Linked DNA regions of Homo sapiens: all the other regions are linked to region 1. The links are contacts of gene promoters, found by promoter capture Hi-C in blood cells and fetal thymus (Javierre and others, 2016). All regions are on one chromosome and are shown on one strand. Each heading gives the region's core, a stretch centred on a gene start or on the middle of the fragment in contact. The rest is flanking DNA. Distances are from core to core; before and after follow the strand shown.

Region 1 (2,700 bases), core at 30-2,529:
CGCCACTGCACTTCAGCTTGGGTGACAGAGCGCGACTCCATCTCAAAAACAAAAAAGGGGGGGGATAGGCTTTCCAGTGGATTTTACTCATTTTTATTTATTTATAGACTTTTCTGAGACAGGGTCTTGCTTTGTTCCCCAGCCTGGAGTGTAGTGGCACAGTCACGGCTCACTGCAGTCTCGATCTCCCGGTCTCAATGGATATCCACCCCCTGCCTCAGCCTCCCAACAAGCTGGGCCCACAGGTGCTAATTTTTTTTTTTTTTTTTTTTTTTCCGGAGAGAGAGTCTCGCTCCTTTGCCCAGGCTGGAGTGCAGTGGTGCGATCTCGGCTCACTGCAACCTCTGCCTCCCGGGTTCAAGCCATTCTCATGCCTCAGCCTCCTGAGTAGCTGGGATTACAGGCACCCGCCACCACGCCCAGGTAATCTTTTTATTTTTAGTAGAGACGGAGTTTCACCATGTTGGTCAGGCTGGTCTCGAACTCCTGACCTCAGGTGATCCACCCGCCTCGGCCTCCCAAAGTGCTGGGATTACAGGCGTGAGCCACCGCGCCCGGCCTCGGTGGCTGAGTTTTAATTTTTTTTTGTACATACGGGTGTCTCGCTATGTTGCACAGGCTGGTCTCTGAACTCCGGGCTCAAGCGAGCCTCCCGCCTGGGCCTCCCAAAGTGGTGGGATTAGAAGCGGGAGCCACCGCACCAGCGAGGGATTTACTCTGCTGTGTTGCGCATCGCGCGCATTGTTCGCAAGACCTAAGGTCTCCCTTTCTTGTAATATAAAGGATATACACATATTCCTCCGAAATTACACGTTTATGTAATTTACATTTCAGGTCTTTAAAGGAAATCTAAAGAGAAAAATTACTTCGTCACCGTAGTACATCCGCTGAGACACCTGAGGCGTGGAAAAAAGAAGAAAAAAGAGGGAACGGAAATGGCCAGCGGGTAAGGGCTGACCCCACCCGCAGCAGAGCTCATCCCGGAGCCGCCCCACCCGCAGGAAGCCCCGGGCGGGGCCGAGGTCAAGGTTCCGCGGCAAACTCTCCCCGTCCACCCTGACGGGGACTCGGGATTGGTCGGGCCCCAGCTGCCCGGACGTGACGCCAGCGCCCGGCGTGGGCGGTGCACCGCGGCCGCTCTTCCCATGCCCCGCCCCCTGGGGGGCACCAAAACCAGAAAGCAGCGGCCGGGGCGGGGCCTGCGGCCGGCCGACTCAGCGCGGGGGCGGGGCCTACCTCGCGGCAACAGCTGGTTGGTAGCTGCGGCTGCGGGCCCGCACTTCCGCTGGTGGCCTAGAGCGGGGCCCGGTATGGAGGTGGGCTAGAGGCCGACGCCAGCCAGAGAGCGGTGAGGGTAGCGGCGGGCTGGAGGCCGTAGGTCGGGCGGGCGTGAGCGCAGGCGCGGCTTGTGCTTGCAGGGCCGCTTCGGGGAACCATCGCGGCGCCTAGGTCCCGGTGGGCGGATGGGGGAAGAGTCGGCGCGGGCTCGGCCGCTTCCCTCGGTGCGGGGGCGGGAGCACCCCTCGACGGCTGGCGGCCGCCTGTTGCCTTCCTGCGCGCTGGACCCGGCCGCTGCGACCCCCTGTCCTTCCGTTGTCTACACTGCGGTCTCGTGTGAGCTGTTTTTGGTGTGGATACTGCGTAGTTTCCTTGGGGCTGAGCGGGAGGTCTCGGGGTGGAAAGTGTCGGTTCCCTCCACACGCTCGTCTGCCTCTCGCCTGGAGTCCCTCCCTTTGTTTTTTTTTCTTTTTTCTTTTTTTTTTTTTTTTGAGACGGGGTCTCGCTCTGTCACCCAGGCTGAAGTGCAGTGGAACAGTCACGGCTCGCAGCAACCTCGTCTTCCTGGGCTCCAGCGATCCTTCCGCCTCATCCCCCCGAGTAACTGGGACCATAGGCGCGCGTCACCACGCCCGGCTAATTAAAAACAAAATGTGTTGCAGAGACAGGGCCTGGCTGTGTTTCCCAGGCTGAGCTCAGCTGCTCCAGGGATCCTCCGAGCCGCCGCGCCCGGCCGGTCCCTTCGTTTGGAGGAGAGTCTGTTTCTCCCACTTGGAGGGGCTGGAGCTTTTGCTGCTGGCCACAGGACTTTGTCCGTCCTCCCCAACTTCTGGGGATCTAAGGATGTGCCCAGCAATTTGCACGACCCAAGTGAAACGGGGGTGACTGCCTTGAGGGAAAAGAGCTCCACAAGGAGAAGGCCGAGTGTGGTATTTGATAAGTGACACAGCTGAGGATCCTAGGATTGATGTTACCTGCGCGGGCTAATAACTTGGGGGATTTTTGGCTCGGTGCCTAGCTGTCCCCGTGAGTGGGGACAGCCCCTTGTGGAACTGGGAGTCAGAATTGCAGTTCTGCTGTTTCCTGGAAGTCCACAGCCAAGTTGTCTAACCTATCTGGGCTTCCTCATCAGCCAGCAGTATCTGTCTGTAATAGGATCGATACCAGGCTCAGATGGGATATAGAGTATAAATGCCACTTACCAATTTCGTTTTTTGTTTTTTAATTTCAGAAATGTTCTTTTGGGGCCAGAGTCTGGGCATATATGAATGCAAATCCGTGTTTGTTCACAACTAAGCCCAGCTGAGACGATCACTTTTCTGTAGGCCATTTGTCCAGGTAATAATTTTTTTTTTTAGCAGGAGTTCAGAGCACCAAGGTAAGTGCAATGATGGAAACATGTGCAGAGTCCTAAAGGGACAG
Region 2 (2,700 bases), core at 43-2,542, 1.2 Mb after region 1:
GAAAATTAACTTGTCTGTGACTATTATTTATCTAATTTAGCTCTATGTGAGTACAGAAAAATAAATCAGTAAGATTAAATTTCTTTCAGTTATTCTGATTACCAAAAGCATTTGTTATTGGCATAAAAAAATTTTAACTGAAAACAGAATCTCAAAGAAAAATTTGGATATGGATACTAAAACAAAGCAGTTATGCCTAAAATTGTCACAAATTTTTCTTTAAATTGAAGTTATTATCTAGGTAATGTAATGGGAAAAAAATTTATGGCTTCTTTAAGCAAGTATTTTTAAGTAAGTATTTTTAATCAACATTGCTTAATCTTATTTTTTTCTTCTTTTTTCATAAAAGAAGCCTTTTTCGGCAAGGCACAGTGGCTCATACCTGTAATCCCAGCACTCTGGGAGGCTGAGGCAGGAGGATAACTTGAACCCAGGAGTTTGAGAACAGCCTGGGCAACATGGGGAGACCTCGTCTTTTATTTTTTTCTATTATTTATTTATTTTTTAAAATGCCTTTTTCCCAGATGCAAACTTACTCAAAACCCAACACAAATCAGAAAAGTAAACCTTCTCTGGCTAAAGCAGAGGCTAGGATCCAGCTCAGCCTATCTCAAACCCTTGTGAATCAGTGCCATAAAACTTGAGGACTGCAGAAAACAGTGTAAAAGCCAAAACGACTACTTTGCTGCTTCATCAAGTATATATAAGCTGGTTCTTATTCCACTATTCAGATTAACAACAGATTCTGGAGACATTTTCTCTATCCCCTATTAAGAACCAACACACACACACTTACACACACATACACAGCACCCTAGCTCACACATGCACACGTGCATGTGCGCGCGCACACACACACACCCCACCACACCCTATCACTATGTACAGGCCCAGTTACTGGTTCTCTTTACCTGGAGCAGTGGATCTCACTGGTGGGGTCTTCCTCTTGGCCAAGAAGTTTCTCAGTTGTGCCTGTTTCATGGGGGACAGTTTGGCTGCAAGAAATCCATAAACCCATAAATGATTAAGACTCAGTTTTTAAGATATCAGTACTTGGAAGAGAATAAAGGGAGTTAAAAGACTGGGAAGGATGCAATTACCTGGTACTTTGGGCAAGGATTTGGTGTGAGATTCTATGGTGGTTTTCAACAAAGCATTGCACAGGCTTTCCAGGTCACTGTCAAAACTGAAACAGAACAGTGTTAGATACAGACCAACTAGGAGCTGAAAGATCGGAGGCTGTCGGGGGTACACTATCCTCTTAAATATAAATGCAAGACATGAGAATATCCCCAATATATAAACATGCCATCTGACCAACTGATGGAATTAATCTAAAAGAAGTGAGATCACAATCATATTATATACCATCTCCACCTCAAACACAACATGATGGTGCCTCAGTAGAAAAAGTAATTAAAATTTATACATTTGGCCTAAAAGCATAAACACAAAACCATTTTGGTAAACTCAAGGCAAACTGTCAATCTGCCAGGGTCTGAAAGTCCCCCCATTCAAGCAGAATGGCAAATCTGGGCTTCAGAAACAAGTCAGTCAACTTAATCCTATCAGCTGATTTTCAATCAAACCATGACACTGTTACTATGGTGTATCACTTGCTATGATATATTCAGCACCCATTTCATCAGTGTAATATTTTACAGACTTAATTTAACTCTCCAACAATCCCACGAAGCAGGTATTGTCATCCTCATTTTTTAGGCAAAGAAACAAAGGATCAGAGAGGGTGGGACCCTGACCAGGATTACACAGGTGAGAGACACAGAGTCACTTGCAAACCCATATCTGAACCACTCTAAGACTCCCTAAATGTTCATGCATTCATTCACCCATATTTATTGAGTGCAAGTCCTCTCCACACCTGTGAATGCTGCTCTGGGAAGGAACAGCCGAGGACAGGCTCCACAGGGAAGTCTGTTTGTAAAGGCGGAGCTGCTGAAGACTATCCACCAGGTGATTCAGCCTCTTCCTCTGTTGGTTGATGATTTCCCGATTGTTGGCTAGGGTGTTAAACAGTGTCTCTCGCTCTGGCACAAGCAGGTGCCTGTTGACAACAATGAGAAAAGAATTAAACATGAATGGTTCAAGTAAAGGAATCTCCCAGTAAAAAAACAAACAAGACTACAATGGTAACAGTGAAAATGATAAAATGGAGAACCAGCACTGGACAAGAACCATTAAGAAATTACTAGAAAATAAAAAGGAGATGAAAGCCTAATGAAGATAAAATGGAATGTGGAGAAAACAGCTGGAAACAGGCAGGCCAGTCCTGTAGCAAAGGACAGCATACATTAGGTGAAACCTGAGAGAGGCCCTGGGAAGAAAAGGGCAGGAGTGAGGTGTGAGTCAGGAACCAGGAAAAAGCCAGTCAGCTTTCTACTTAGAATTTATCTGTTTTTCTGAATGTAAATTATATTCAATTAAAAAAAAAAGGTTCACTGGAAGTCTATGGGAGTCAGTTAATTCTTCAGACTATTGTCAAGAAATAGGGGGACAGCATAAGATTTAGCATCAGGAAGGTAACCTGCCCAAAAGAACTAAAACAAGACAGAGACAACAGTAGCTGCCTCTGGGAAGTAGGTCTGACTGTAGAGGGCGACAGGTCTATTTGCTTCCGCTTTTCAGTAGAAATCTTTAAGTAGCTTTGAAATTTTTTTCTGACTGCATTAATTTGCAGAG
Region 3 (2,700 bases), core at 80-2,579, 1.2 Mb after region 1:
TATTTTTTTTAAGAAAACATTTTGGCATTGTATAAAAAACTGTAAAAAACAGACCCAGTAATTTCTCTTCTAAGAATAAAGCTTACAAACATAATGCAAAAAATGAAAAAGATATTTAATGCAATCCAAATGGTTAAAAAGAAAAAAAAAAGTCAATGGAAGGCTGGGCGCAGTGGCTCATGCCTGTAATCCCAGAGCTTTGGGAGGGCAAAGCAGGAGGACCCTTTGAGTCCAGGAGTTTGAGACCAGCCTGGGGAACAAAGTGAGACCCTGTTGCTACAAAAAAAATACAAAAATCAGCCAGGTGTGATGGCTTGTGCCTGTAGTCCCAGCTACTTGGGAGGCTGAGGTGGGAGGATCGCTTGGACTTGGGAGACAGAGGCTGCAGTGAGCCAAGATCCTGCCACTACACTCCAGCCTGCACAACAGAGTGAGACCCCTGTCTCAAAAATGAATAATTTTTTTTTCTATTTTCCAAACTTTCCATAAGGTAAAAATATTAATCTTTAAATTAAATAACCAACTAAATAAGAAAAGAATTCTTTGTGTCAATATTTTCTATTTATATTAATAGGACTTGGTTGTTCCAAATTAGCTAAGATGGCAGTTTATCTTCATGGAAGACACTTTGTCTAATGCAACGTAATACTTAGATACAAGTATGAAAATACCACTTTCTGAAAACAAAAATCCAAGTAAACTGTCACATTGATGAAAGTATAATAATGCAAGCAAACCTATTCTGTTAATACTTCTTTATACAATAGATATGGAACCAGCTACAACTAACTTCTGTAAAGACATACATAGATGTTAAAACACTTTCATGCATATTAGGTAAACTGACATGAAAAATATATACCAGACCCTAAATAAATCAAAAGCATTTTTTCCACTGAAAACAGAACTGATTATTGGAAAACCATCATGCTACTACTACTTCTGATCAATACAGCATCCTTAGAACTGCAGTGTAGAAACAGGTGGAACCATTAATGTCTTCTGAACCCATGAAGTAGGCTTTAGCTAGACTTAGCTGATGGGACGGACTTTCTCCCCGCAGGGGCTCTCTTCTACACATCTGAACACAACTATAACCTCTGGACCAACTGTGAAGGAAGAGGGGAGTTTCTCTAGGAAAGGCTAACAGTAAAACTGGCCTCTGATTGTGCTCCAGCATTGAATGGGCTAGTAGCAAAGGCTCAGAAACAAACCTCGTCCCATCCCAGAGGCTCCTAATCTCACAGGCTGCTCTGCTTATTACAGACACACCAGGCAGCTGGGTATAGGTAGTTCATGGTACCCTTATTCATGGCTGAATAAGGAGGAAAAAAAAACAACACAAAGAGTACACACACTATGAATAATGGACTACCCTGATACAACACTCTGCAAGCCATCTGGTATATCACTTGGGGTAGTGCTGCCAGTTGTTAGGGCCCAAGTATCTGAGTGGCTCTATTTGTGATATACAACTCACTGTGCACTGGGATGCAGGAAGAGAATATACCCCTAAGTTATTGCTAACCTTATACAAACCAACTGGTCATACATTTTTGCTTAGGTAAGAAACTGGTCATAATAGAAGAAAAAAATTGTATCAGTTATATACTCACAGAATTCAAAAAGAGAAATATTAGTCAAATTCCAACATATGAAACAATGCTCTTTTTAAAAGTTTTATATTTTCTGGTCATGCACAGTGTATCATGCGTATAATCCCAGCACTTTGGGAGGCTGAAGCAGAAGAATCACATGAGCCCAGGTGTTTGAGACCAGCCTGAGCAACACAGTAAGACCCTATCTCTACAAAACATTTAAAAAATAGCTGCATATGGTGGCGCATGCTTGTAGTTCCAGCTACTTGGGAGGCTTAGGTGACTGCCTGAGCCTGGGAGATTAGGGCTACAGTGAGCTGTGGTCATGCCACTGCACTCCAACCTAGGCAACAGAGTAAGACCCTGTCTCCACAAAAAAAAAAAAAAAAAAAAGTTTCTTTTCACAAGTGATACAAATGTCACTGTAAAAATTGTTTAAATACAGACTAGTATTTATATGTGTGCATTCATTTTCATGGAGGATAGGTACCAAAATGTTGACTGTGGCCATTGTTTTGCATGCTCTCATTTTCCTTCAATAAACATCTATTACTTAAGAAATGTTTCAAAAAGGAGAAAAAAAGTCAAGAAAATATAAACAAAAATCTCCATGTTCCCATCACCCAGAAATAACCACCATTTAGACTTTAAATCCATCTCCAAGTTGTTTTTCTATGTATATGTTTTTTCTCATACAGAAAAGATCACAAAGAATAGTGGTTTTTTTTTTTTTGGTGATGTATTCCACTCACTCCTTCCCTGTCAATAAATATAACATTTATAATTGGTACATGGCATTTCACTGTAAGACTATACAATCATTTCTTTAACCAACCCCCATGATTAAGCACAATGTCTTTTGGATGCACATCACATAATATAGGGTCTTAGAAAACTGTTGGTAAACGACTGGATGCAAATCATCTGGTTGACCTTCCTTCATCTCCGAAGTAAAGTAATGGCTGCAGAATAAAGCTTGAGGGTAGGGGAAGGCAAATATGTACATGCATGTTTAAAAAAAAGATTAGTGTGTGCCTTCCTAAGACAGACCAGGCTGGTAAAGATAATCACTATGTGTCTTCACACCATGTTCATTCTTGGA

What was found. Contacts are between HindIII fragments. The CHiCAGO score rates a contact against its expected background, and 5 or more counts as called.
Region 2: a fragment that was not itself captured here is called in contact with the fragment with the promoter of SETX in region 1 in 1 of 17 cell types (M2 macrophages); the score reaches 5.4 in M2 macrophages.
Region 3: a fragment that was not itself captured here is called in contact with the fragment with the promoter of SETX in region 1 in 1 of 17 cell types (monocytes); the score reaches 8.4 in monocytes.

What each region holds. Positions count from the first base shown.
Region 1 is chr9:132,353,565-132,356,264 of GRCh38, reverse strand. SETX (senataxin) reads left to right here and starts at 1,279. Exons shown (of 26, transcript NM_015046.7): 1 at 1,279-1,348; 2 at 2,510-2,616. RefSeq lists silencers at 980-1,369, 1,420-1,629 and enhancers at 1,014-1,513, 495-1,694, 1,514-2,015. The HindIII fragment of the contact is 16,783 bases long and covers 1-2,700 here.
Region 2 is chr9:131,162,356-131,165,055 of GRCh38, reverse strand. It overlaps NUP214 (nucleoporin 214), which reads right to left. Exons shown (of 36, transcript NM_005085.4): 19 at 1,883-2,065; 20 at 1,101-1,186; 21 at 912-995. Among named protein-coding and RNA genes, the nearest start is that of NUP214, 38 kb to the right of the region's middle. The HindIII fragment of the contact is 3,479 bases long and covers 1-2,700 here.
Region 3 is chr9:131,140,770-131,143,469 of GRCh38, reverse strand. The region is part of intron 11 of NUP214 (nucleoporin 214); the gene reads right to left. Among named protein-coding and RNA genes, the nearest start is that of NUP214, 17 kb to the right of the region's middle. The HindIII fragment of the contact is 2,492 bases long and covers 84-2,575 here.